Linked DNA regions of Homo sapiens: all the other regions are linked to region 3. The links are contacts of gene promoters, found by promoter capture Hi-C in blood cells and fetal thymus (Javierre and others, 2016). All regions are on one chromosome and are shown on one strand. Each heading gives the region's core, a stretch centred on a gene start or on the middle of the fragment in contact. The rest is flanking DNA. Distances are from core to core; before and after follow the strand shown. Region 1 holds the start of LINC02198 (long intergenic non-protein coding RNA 2198). Region 2 overlaps SLC30A5 (solute carrier family 30 member 5). Region 3 holds the start of MRPS27 (mitochondrial ribosomal protein S27).

Evidence for each region. Contacts are between HindIII fragments. The CHiCAGO score rates a contact against its expected background, and 5 or more counts as called.
Region 1: a contact is called between a fragment that was not itself captured here and the fragment with the promoter of MRPS27 in region 3, in 1 of 17 cell types (total CD4 T cells). The highest score is 7.7, in total CD4 T cells.
Region 2: a contact is called between a fragment that was not itself captured here and the fragment with the promoter of MRPS27 in region 3, in 1 of 17 cell types (non-activated CD4 T cells). The highest score is 6.0, in non-activated CD4 T cells.

Annotation. Positions count from the first base shown.
Region 1 is chr5:69,028,124-69,032,275 of GRCh38, forward strand. LINC02198 (long intergenic non-protein coding RNA 2198) reads right to left here and starts at 1,804. Exons shown (of 4, transcript NR_130778.1): 1 at 1,665-1,804. The HindIII fragment of the contact is 1,155 bases long and covers 1,316-2,470 here.
Region 2 is chr5:69,102,458-69,106,605 of GRCh38, forward strand. It overlaps SLC30A5 (solute carrier family 30 member 5), which reads left to right. Exons shown (of 16, transcript NM_022902.5): 3 at 605-671; 4 at 2,174-2,259. Among named protein-coding and RNA genes, the nearest start is that of SLC30A5, 11 kb to the left of the region's middle. The HindIII fragment of the contact is 4,406 bases long and covers 1-4,148 here.
Region 3 is chr5:72,318,010-72,321,816 of GRCh38, forward strand. It overlaps MRPS27 (mitochondrial ribosomal protein S27), which reads right to left and starts at 2,231. Exons shown (of 11, transcript NM_015084.3): 1 at 2,140-2,231. The coding sequence starts at 2,212. PTCD2 (pentatricopeptide repeat domain 2) reads left to right here and starts at 2,364. Exons shown (of 10, transcript NM_024754.5): 1 at 2,364-2,500. The coding sequence starts at 2,374. RefSeq lists enhancers at 1,282-1,823, 1,824-2,364, 1,963-2,292, 2,353-2,562. The HindIII fragment of the contact is 19,626 bases long and covers 1-3,807 here.

The sequences.
Region 1 (4,152 bases), core at 643-3,142, 3.3 Mb before region 3:
TCTCAACCCCATAAAGTCCTGAGTTAAATAAACCTATTAGGTGAAAATGTGAATAGATCAAGCACTGTAAAAAAAAAAAAAAAAAAAAAAGTTGAAAATGTAATCAATGACATAATTTCTAAAGTGGCATCTGGCCTAAGAGAGTTGTATTCAATGAGTTCCACCAAACTTCAAGAAACAGGTGATGTTTGGGTGTTTTTCTATTTCCACAAGGCATCAAAAAAAATGCAGGTAATCTGAGGACCACCATTGGAGAACCACTGTCTTTGTAGAATGCCGCCTTAATGAAGCTTATTTTGATCTGGGTGTGTTTCAGCTATTAGAAAAGGAGGATTCGAACTCTAAACATGGAAGACAGGGCAGCAACACAGAAAGGAATTATATGAAGATCTCCTTATCAAAGCGGCCTGGCAAATAGGGCACAATGAGATGCAACAAAATTAGGCAGACCAGTCTTCCTAAAGATCCAGCTAAAACCAAAGAAGATAATTTGGAGTTGGGCCAGGGTAAGATCCAGAAACTAAGATTTCTCGGTTATTTATAGAGCAGTCATCATATTTGTAAGATGCCTATGAGATACATATATATGACAAAGGAAGGAGGTGGCTCAGGTCTGTCTATTAGGGATTCCTTCAGCAAAGTCTCAACTGGGATCAAGTCTTGTTCAAAGTAAAGCCTTCTTTCTAAATCCACCTACCTCTGTTAACTATTGTTTTCTTCTGTCTCTTCTCAACTATGCTCTTACTGAAACATCAGCTCCTGGGACATCCCTTGTCTTGTTTCCCAGTTTTGTTCCTACCTATGTTTTGCCAGGATTCAGAGGAGCTGGGTTCTAGGCTTGATTAAAATCTTTCTAATCGTGTCATCTTGTTAACATCTTGTTGGTCATCTGTTTACACCTCTTGAATATCAGATCTAGCCCAGATCTGATCCTTTCCCCCATACTCATATTAAAATGCACCCCCACCTTCGCCTGTAGAGGGCCATCCTTGCCCCACTCCACATATTTAGCTCAGGAGTTATTGTCTCCATCCTGGCTAATCAGAGTTAACCACATACTAGGAAAACAGAACTAAGAGATGTCAAGGGAATCTGGGCCCTGATGGTATCAATCGAACATCTCTTTCAAGGCACATTGAAAGCTCACTCTAGTCCTGAACTTTTCAATTCTGTGAGCCAAAACACAGAGACAGAGACAGACAGAGAGACAGATACCTTTTACTGTGTAATCCACTTTGAGTTTTCTGTCGCTTGTAATGCATCTTTCTTGGAAGCATGTTTTTCATCAATAAAACAAGGATAATACTTGCTACCAAGCTTCAGTAGGATGTAAGTATTTTGGAAAGTCTAAAGCCTATTCAAACATAAAGTATTATTCCTACTTCCTCTTTTATGCTCTTGCCTGAGTTCCTTGCATACTAATACTTTCAAAGCATAAAACATAATACTATACCAAAAGAACATTTTCATTACCTGATATTCCTGTTCTGTGTTCAGGGACTTTTGATCCCATCTGTTCTACAGAATCTTTTATATAATAGAATTCTTTGAAACCAGACCAGCAAAGTTCTGTTTCAATGAACCATTTGTTCCCTAAGCCACAAAAATAGCTCCTGCAAATAAACCCTATGTTTAAAATGGTGTTTGTGAAAACCTCATTTTACCTGTGATATATATGAATGTACTTTGGAAATAAATTTGCCTTGTAAATTTGTCATTGATGTCTAGTAAATTTTCATTACTACTAATTAGTTAAAGTATTAGTTCCTTCTGATTTCTTGATCTTGGGACTTGCTGCTCAAAAAAGGCACTGGCTTTGGGGATCCAACAATGAAAGATCTTGGGTCTTTATTCAAACAGCAGATGATTTTCTTTTCAATGCTGCTGATTTTACTTCTGTGGTTCTTTTTTCTTCATTTCTGCTTCTCCCTCCTTTTCACGACTAATTTGGCTTTGAAATTTGATTCTTTGATTTAATCCATCTGCAATATTTATTCCTCATAGCTATTATCAGTGCCTTTGCAGAAAGTCATCTGTTGCCTGAGGAATTAGAAGACAAGGAGATATTAGGGGTTTGAGTTGCACTCTAAAAAATTAGAGAACAGAAGCAATATATTGGGATGTTAATCCAATCTCAATAAAGCTGTTACTTAAAGAGAAAAAAAGCAATGAGTTAATACTGGCCGACCCCTCAAGAACCCATGCAGAATCACAAACTGATCCTCCCCTGGGTTCATCAGCATGAAGGATGATGGCATTCTTTTCTCGATCCAAATAAAACCCAGCAAACCCTTCTTCAAGTGTTACCAATGAGGCATGTAGAATCACAGTAAGGAGATTTAACTGATAAAGGCATTTTATTTTCCAGCATTTAAGTGTACACTTTAAAGACTAAAATCAATTCCAACGTCCCTATTTATACTCTGGTGGTACACATGTGTATATATAGCAAACCAGCCATTAGGAAAGAAGCTTTGCATCTTTCCACATAATCCAAAATAATGGCAAATTATGATGTGGTGATTAAATCAAGACCTTCCATATCAAAAAATATATTGCGGACTGGATCTATTCAAAGCTACCTTCTTTTTCAATTTTTTATATTTTATTCCACCTTGCCAATGTACTTTCCTTATAATTCATTCTCTAGCTCAGCTGGACTTATTGCTACTTAGAATGGCACATACAACAGTGAAAAGATGATGTCACCCTTTAGCCAAATTGCACTATTATTCCAGAACTGCATGTACTCTCATTCATTTATCTCTGCTGACATCGCTCCACAGGAAGGTTTTCCAGGGCAGATGCGTGCTCCCTTGGCAATAAAAGTGGTGGAGATTGCACATCCATTTTAAAATCCTGAAAGGTAGATTTTAGTAAATCTCAACTTTTTAAAAATGTATTGTGATTAAAGGAGGCATCAGTTGTTGTCCCCAAACCTGTTCTGGTTAAAAACCTCAAAGAATCTTGAATGTGAAACAACCTTCAAAATTTATTCTCATTATACAAATATTTTCTTCATTTAAAGGCATGTTTTAAAAGCTGAATTTAAGAAGAATTGTGCAGATTATAGTGGTCTATTTTGCAAGTATGTGCATATATGCTAAGAAATAACTATACACTTTAGTGAACATTTGATAAGGAGTCGGGGGAAAAATTAGTGAAAGATTATTATGCAGGATTCTATTCAAGTGTGCCAGAACAGCTTTAAAATCAAATGCAAGCATTAGAGATAGGAAGAGACTTTAGGAAGAGGAAGACAAGCAATTGCAGAAATTGTATAAAACAGAAAAGGCAACGTAGGAAGTAAGAGTGAAGAGAAAATCCAGGAAAAATAGGGTTGGGTACAGTGGCTCATAGTTGTAATCCCAACATTTTAGGAAACTGAGGCAAGACAATCGCTTAAGGCCAGGAGTTCAAGACCAGCCTGGACAACATAGTGAAACCCCATCTCTACAAAAAATTTAAAAATTAGCCAGATGTGGTGGCACACACCTGTGGTCCCAGCTACTCAGGAGGCTGAGGCAGGAGGATGGCTTGAGCCCAGGAGTTCAAGGCTGCAGTGAGCCACGATCACACCACTGCACTCCAGCCTGGGTGACAGAGCAAGATTCTGTCTCTTTAAAAAAAAAAATGTGGGGAGGTAGTTTTTAAAAATACATTTTCTTATGTTTTAATCTTTTTAGAATGTAATCCATGCACACAGCAAAAATCCCAATAGCACAAAAGGATATACAAAGAATAGGAATCTCTTTCCCACTCCTGACTCCAGACCCCTAGAATTCATCCCCCACCCAAGGCAAACACTGTTACCACTTTCTTGTTCTCTTCATTTTTGTGTGTGTACCACAGACCACTTCAGTATCTGATAAAGCTTATGGATCCCCCTCTCAGAACAATGTTTGAAAATATGTAAGCTAAAGTGCAGAGGATTACAAAAGAAACCAATTTGCCTGTAATACTGTTCTATCTGTGAATCCCTTAGGGATCCATGGACTCCAGGATAAGAGCATCTACTCTTAGATTCCCATGCATGTACAAGCATATATAGTACAGTATCCTTCCTGCAGTACGCCATCTGCAGGGGGTGCTGCTGTAGCTCGGCCTAGATCCCCTGAAGAAGCCAGTGCACCCATCTCTTGGCTGCTATGA
Region 2 (4,148 bases), core at 827-3,326, 3.2 Mb before region 3:
AATTTTAGAGAAAATAGGAATTCTCTTCTTTGATATTTTAAGATATAAAAAAAATTGTGACTCCTTTATTTTTGTGGCTTGTTAGCTGGTTCTGAAGACAGTTAGAAAATAAGAGTTCTCGGCCAGGTGTGATAGCTCATGCCTGTTTTCCCAGCAGTTTGGGAGGCCGAGGCAGGCGGATCACCTGAAGTCAGGAGTTCGAGACCAGCCTGGCCAACGTGTTGAAACACCATCTCTACTAAAAATACGAAAAATTGGCTGGGCGTGGTGGCGCACACCTGTAATCCCTGCTACTCAGGAGGCTGAGGCAGGAGAATTGCTTGAACCCGGGAGGCAGAGGTTGCAGTGAGCCAAGATCGTGCCACTGCACTCCAGCCTGGTGACAGAGCAAGACTCCATCTCAAAAAAAAAAAAAAAAAAGTTATCAAAATATTGCAATAGGAGTTTTACTAAAATAAGTATAATTAATTCTCCAGTATGATTTATTCAGAGGATAACACTTCAAGTTCTGGCATATTTGTTTAAAATAAGTGTCTTTACTTAAAACTGTATCTTGTGTTTAATATGGATTAATATTAATATATTAATGTTTCAATATTTACAGGACTGCATTTTTTATGGTTTTGTTTCAAAAGCCATTTTCTTCTGGGAAAACTATTACCAAACACCAGGTAAGATTTTTGCAGAATCTTTTATTCCTAGCAGCTTCTCGTTTAGTGGGCCAGGAGGCAATGCTTATTTTTTATAATGGGTACTTAATGAATGATTTAAGTATGCCACAGAACAATTTTAGAGTTAACTTGCTCTTGTCTTTTCAGAATGGAGACTTTAAATCATAAAGTACTAAGATCATGGAATGTTTTTAAAAAAAACAAGAGGGTAAAAAAAATTATAAAGCATTCATGTAATTGTTTTCTTCAGTACACACTTCTTATTCTGAAAGATTTACAAATTGGACATGAAAGCATGCCCAAGAGCCTAGTACAAATGTCACTGGAAAGCTGACAAAGCATAGGGGTTAAGAGTGTGATTTCTGGAGTCAGACAAAGTCATGTTCTGTCTGTCCTCCTTACTGACCCTTACTTTGGGCAAGTTACTTGATTTCTCTCTACCTTAATTTGCTCACTGTAAAATGGAGATAACAGTAACTTCCTAACAGAACTGTGAGGAAAAATGAATTAATACTTATGAAGTTCTTAGAATGATGCCTCATCATCATTGTGACAATGTGACACCCTCATGATCATTGTCACTGTTCTCTTTAGGCAGCTGTGATTCAAACTAGAAATGTCCTACATTTTGCATAATCATCTCACATCGTCACTTCTTTGGGCAGCAGTTATACCATAGTACATGTTTGCTTTATGCCATGACTTACAAACCTGCGTCATAATTTTTTTATTAGAAAGACGAATTTAAGTACTTCTGTTTCAGAGACCAAGAACATTTTTTAAAATATGATTAATAGTCTAAACCCCATTTTAACTTTTTTCTCTCCTTTCAGATAATTGGATCACTAAAAATTCCTGGTAGAAAAGAATTTAAAGACAAAAAGTTAAATGATCCTAGGAAACTAGTGGGAAACTGAGAAATCATAAAATTGTACTCTGAAGAAAAAGATTTCAAAATCTACCAGCAGACAAGAATATAGATAATGGAAAACAGAATACTGTCCTTTTTTTTTTTCTTTCTTTTTTTGAGAAAGAGTCTTGCTCCATCGCCCAGGCTGCAGTGCAGTGACACGATCTTGTCTCACTGCAACCTCTGCCTCCCGGGTTCAAGCGATTCTCCTGCCTCAGCCTCCTGAGTAGCTGGAATTACAGGCACCCACCACCACACCCAGCTCATTTTTGTATTTTTAGTAGAGACGGGGCTTCATTCACCACATTGGCCAGCCTGGTCTTGAACTCCTGACCTCAGGTGATCTGCCTGCCTCGGCCTCACAAAGTGCTAGGATTACAGGCATGAGCCACAGCACCCGGCCCAGAATAAGAATACTGTCTTGGAAATCTAGACTTAGTCAAGGGATCTTATGTTTTCTATTTACAAAATATGTAATGATTTCACCTTTAAAATATTTGTTATTATTATCTTTCTGTATTTTATTTAAAATTTGGATATATAGCAAAATATATGTGACTGAAATTTTTAATTTTTTTGTTTCCATTTATAGTGGATCAAAATATTTAAACATGCAGTTGCTGGGTGTATTATTTCACTCTTGTGGTTTTTTGGCCTCACTCTTTGTGGACCACTAAGGTAAATAAAAATGCATATTTTGAATGTGTGTTTGTATTTCTTCATTTTGAATATTATTTTTGTTCCACTGTGTTTTACGTCAAATATTTATCTGTACAAATGTGTCTAGCACTTTTATAGCATCAGAGAGAATTCAACAGATAGAACAAACCTGTTTAGTTTCTGGACTAGTTCTTTAGTGAATACCATTAATATATTTATTCATGATTTGTCATAGATATTTTACTAGTTAGAATTCCAAGTTTCAGAAAATTTTTAGCATAAACGGCTTTTTAATCATTTATTCATGATCCCTGTTAACAGCTTAGAAGCTATAATAAAAGGTCTGAAGTGGTAAATAAAATTAGCCAATAAGAAGGAGAACAAAAATCTCTAAAAGCACTCATTTTTTGCACAATTTTGCAAATACTCTCATAAATAAATGTCTCAGAAGTAGTATATCAATTATCAGATTAAATGCGTGGTGGATAAAGTAAACTACTCCCATTTCATATTTCCCTAGATCTATATAGATTAGTCTTTTTCTGCAAGTGGACTGGTTTAAGGAGGAAATGCTTAGGGACCATTGATAGGAATTGTATCATGCAGCTGTGTATGAGCATTCTTTTAACATTTCCCCATCTGTAAAGGATTTTACTTAGTGAATAAGTGTAAGAAAAAATGCCTTGCCGTGAGAATGAGAGGTAAGGAGTGAAATGAAGAATGTTCTTGGCCAGCACTGTGGCTCACGCCTGTAATGCTAGCACTTTGGGAGGCCAAGGGGTGGATCATTTGAAGTTACGAGTTGGAGACCACCCTAGCCAACATAGCAAAACCCCGCCTTTATTAAAAAATATACAAAAATTAGCCAGAAATCACTTGAACTCAGGAGGCGAAGGTTGCAGTGAGCCGAGATCACGCCACTGCACTGCAGGCTGGGCAACAGAGCGAGACTCCGTCTCAAAAAAAAAAAGAATGTTCTAAAGCAGAGAGATCCCCCACCCCCTGGCTATAGACCAGTATGGGTTCATAACTCATTAGGAACCAGGCCACAGAGCAGGAGGTGAGCCACGGGGGAGCAAGCATTACTGCGTGAGCTCTACCTCCTGTCAGATCAGCAATGGCATTAGATTCTCATGGGAGCAGGAACCCTGTTGTGAACTGTGCATGGGAGGGATATCTAGGTTGCATGCTCCTTATGAGAATCTAATGTCTGATGATCTGAGGTGGAACAGTTATGTCCTAAAACATCCCCCCACCACTGCTGTCTGGAAAAATTGTCTTCCAGGAAACCAGACCCTGGTGCCAAAAAGGTTGGGGACCACTGTTCTAAAGGATCTCACTCAGAATAGTGGGGTAGACAGAGTGGAAAGTGAAGGGTGAGAAATGTGGAAATGCTTTGTGAAAAGTCCTTTCCCCTCTCATGGCCAATAGAATAGCTTCTGGATTGGGATCCCTTTGACTTGTTTGTCATGTACTTTGTCAGATGCAGAGTAGGTATAATTGGAAATGTCATATCTCTAGCCACAGTAGCAGCTGCAGCTTGGAGGGCTGAGAAAGCTAGCTGAATTTCCTAGCTTGGGAAGAGGTTTTTCACCGTATGCTTGAATATGATTGAGTGCTGCTATTGCTTATCATCTGTAATATTTTAAATTTGTTATTCATGAAATTATGTTTTGGTTCCTGTGTTACTATATCACTGTCCTTTTGTGTTACAATAAGGAGGGAAAGAGGAAGTACTTACATCTTTACTTGGTTCCCTATTTAGTCATCTAGCTCCTGACCTTATCACTACCAACACTGCCCTCTCATTCTTCTACTAAAACCATTATGCAGTTTCTCAATTGCAAAAATTTTAATCCCAGCACTTTGGGAAGCCGAGGTGGGCAGATAGCTTGAGCCCAGAAGTT
Region 3 (3,807 bases), core at 981-3,480:
CTAATGATAGCTGATGGGCAAACAAACAAAACAAAAAATGCTAAAAATCTCCTAATATTTTAGTTAAGTTTACAAATTTGTGTTGGGCCACATTCAAAACTGTCCTGGGCTGAGGGTTGGACAAGCTGCTTTAAGTCATTTGTAGATTACTTATAATACCTAACACAATGTAAACGCAATGTAAGTGGTTGTCATGTTGTATTTTCTTTGTATTATTTTACTGTTGTATTATTTTTTATTGTTAGTTTTTGTTTTGTTTTGTAGTATTTTGATCCGCTGTTGGTTGACTCTGCAGATGCAGAATGCTCGGATAAGGAAGCCAACTGTACTCCCGCATACCAGCTACTTGCTTACTCTCTATTTATTATCTGTTATTCTCTATGCCTTCATTCTAGCATATGCTTCATTCTAGCATAAGTAATCACCTTTCTACATTCTGGAGTCAGGACAATATCTAGATCATTGCTCAAGAGTTCTGAACTGGGAGATTAAAAAGCTGGGCCAGCTGGGCACAGTGGCTCACGCCCGTAATCCCAGCACCTTGGGAAGTAGAGGCGGGTGGATCACCTGAGGTCAGGAGTTAGAGACCAGCCTGACCAACATGGAGAAACCCCGTCTCTACTGAAAATACAAAATTAGCCGGGAGTGGTGGCGCATGCCTGTAATCTCAGCTACTCGGGAGGCTGAGGCAGGAGAATCACTTGAACCCGGGAGGCAGAGGCTGCAGTAAGCCGAGATCGTGCCATTGCACTCTAACCTGGGCAACAAGAACGAAACCCGAAAAAAAAAAAAAAGGCTGGGGAGGTGATTGTGGGGAAAGACAGGTCTCCCAAAATGCCCTCTGTGTGTAGTTGTTCACGGAAACCACATAAACAGAAAATAGCTACAACAGCTAATTCTTACTAAGGTGTCAAGCGTTGTGCATAACACTGCCTAATGTGTGACATTAAACGTTTTCACCAGGTCAGCCACTTAATCTTCAGAAAACTGGTGGCCAACTCTGAGGTTTCACATTGACGTTTAATGGCTGTTCCTAAAGAAGTGCGTGCTTTTTAAAAAAATAGAGGATGGGAGGTAGGTTGGAAAGGGAAGATAAGCGGCAATGGAAAAATCGAGTGTGATTATTGCATTTTTATCAAATATGTCTGTCTGGATTATGTGGTTAGAATCACTGCAAATTTGGCTTCTATAAATACTTTAAAACTTTTTTCCAATGTTTTCATTATCAGATCCACTATGCAGGCTTTGAGTGGGCTGCCATTTAGTTCAGATATCAAAGTATTTTACAAGTAACTAATAGCATTTATTATCTACACGTGGAAAACTATAGCAAAGAAAGGTCAATCAAAAGTTGTGCTCTAGGTCATCAGATAAAATGAGATTAATACTGAAAAATTCTTCCACGAAGACCAGGGGTCCAGCTAAATGTGTGGTGGTGGGAAAAATGTTTATCTGACGTCCCTCTAAAGAAACCTCAGATGGGAGAAAAATGTCCCAGCCCCAGGAATGGACACATTTAGGTTTTTCCTTTTTTTTTTTTTTTTTTTTTTTTGAGACAGGGTCTCGCTCTGTTGCCCAGGCTGGAGTGTAGTGGCGCGATCTCTGCTCACTGCAACCTCCGCCTCCCGAGTTCAAGCGATTATCCTGCCTCAGCCCCCCGAGTAGCTGGGATTACAGGCGCGCGCCACCAGGCCCAGATAATTTCTTTGTATTTTTTAGTAGAGATGGGGTTTCGCCCTGTTGGCCAGGCTGGTCTCGAACTCCTGGCGATCCGCCCGCCTCGCGTTCCCAAAGTGCTGGGACCACAGGCGTGGGCCACCGCGCCCGGCGCACATTTGGGTTTTTCGTGGTCAGCAAAAGCACGACCACCCCAACACATAAATCTGGCGAATCATACGCAAATTCCCTCATGCTATATAACCTTCCACTGCTCTTCGTACCTTTGGACAGGAACATACTGTTATTTTAGGGAAGGAAATGGATCAGATACCTTGTCTCCTTCTTCTGCACTACCAAACACCCCAAATGGCGTCCCTAGCAATCAGATTCCAGAAACGTTTCCTCTCCTCTTGAAAGCCCACCGCTCCCTTCACCCAAAAAACAGAATAATCAGGGGCCTAATGAAGCTGTCCGGCCAACCTGCAGGAGAGAGCTGAGGAAGAACCACTTGCCGCGCCAGGAGCATCCCGCGCCGCACTATGGAGGCAGCCATCTTGGAGCGTACCAAAAGGAACAGCCAACGGGTTACGGACAGAGGAAGGGGCGGGGTTACAGCTCGACCTCTCGGGGCGCCCAGAATTGGACGAATCCCTTTTGTCGCTCTCGACGACAGGACCGACGCTCCGCCTCCTCGCCCCGGTTCCAGTAGTTGGTATGGTCCGAGACAGTATGGCTGCTGCATTTCGGCCCTCGAATCGAGTTCTCCTGCAGGCGCTGCAGATTTTGGTGTATCCTGGGGTGGGAGGCTCCGGCTCTGTCAGCTGCCGCTGCCCTCTCGGAGGTATCCGCGGCTTTAGCCTAGGGAAGGAGGGGAGGGATGGGAGAGAAGGGAGTGTTAGATCCCAGCTAGCATCTCTGTGGAGCAGCCACAGCTCCTAAGTCACTCACTGGCCTGGAGCGCACCCTCGCCCTCTAGTTGCACGTGGGTGCAGTGGTGACCACTGGGGGTCGTGGATACCCCCAGTGCCTGCAAATCGAAGGACTGCTGGGGTATTGACCTTGGGGCTGTAGTGCTCCCTCAGATGGGGCGACGTTCGTCTTCAGGAACATCCCTCCCGCCTTGGGTGACTTTTATTTATTTATTTATTTATTTTTGAGACGAAGTCTTGCTCTGTCGCCCAAGCTGGAGTGCGGTGGCGCGATCTCGGCTCACTGCAGCCTCCGCCTCCCGGGTTCAAGCGATTCTCCTGCCTCAGCTTTCCGAGTAGTTGGGACTACAGGCGTGCGCCACCACGCCCGGGTAATTTTTTGTATTTTTAGTAGAGACGGGTTTCACTATGTTGGCCAGGCTGGTTTCGAACTCCTGACCTCGTGGTCCACCCGCCTCGGCCTCCCAAAGTGCTGGGATTATAGGAGTGAGCCACCGCGCCCGGCCTTTTTCTTTTCTGCAGAGTTTGGAAGCAGAGGTCTTATGGAGTCTCAGTTCTGCTAACAATCTAAAAGACTTAACGGCACGTTTCTTCATTTTTCAAAACTATCCTCTAACATCTCTATGAAGAGAGTTAAATCTGAAGATGCTAGTGAGTGATAGTAAAAATGTTTGTCAGGCATTACTTTAATGTAGTTTACATACATTAATTCCTTTTCTCTAGACAACACCCAGCAAGAGAAGTACCATTCTTTTCTCCATTTACAGAGGAGGAACAAGGTTAAGTAATTTGCCCAAAGTCAGAGGGAACTGTTAGAGGTGGGATTTGAACACACCCAACAATAGAAACCTGCTCCTAACCACTTCACTGGACTGCCTTTCTGTAAATAAATAGCAACTTTTATTGTTACCTTGTTACTGCAGCTCACAGAACTCTGTTAGTGCGTGATTCTTCGGCCACGCTTGGTCCGTTTTATCTCATGCACAGCCAAGGATCCTAAAGAAAGGATGATGTTTCCCAAATCTACTAAGCTGTGATCAATGATTTCCATGTATCTCAAATGTATTTTGAGTCCACATCTGAGAGGCCTTAACCCCCTCATTTCACAGAGGACAAAACTGGGAGTTCCAGTGGTCATGCTGCAGCTTTTTCCACTACACTGTGCTTCTCCCTGGATAAACCAAAACTAAATATGCCTGTTTTGCATTTAAATGTTATT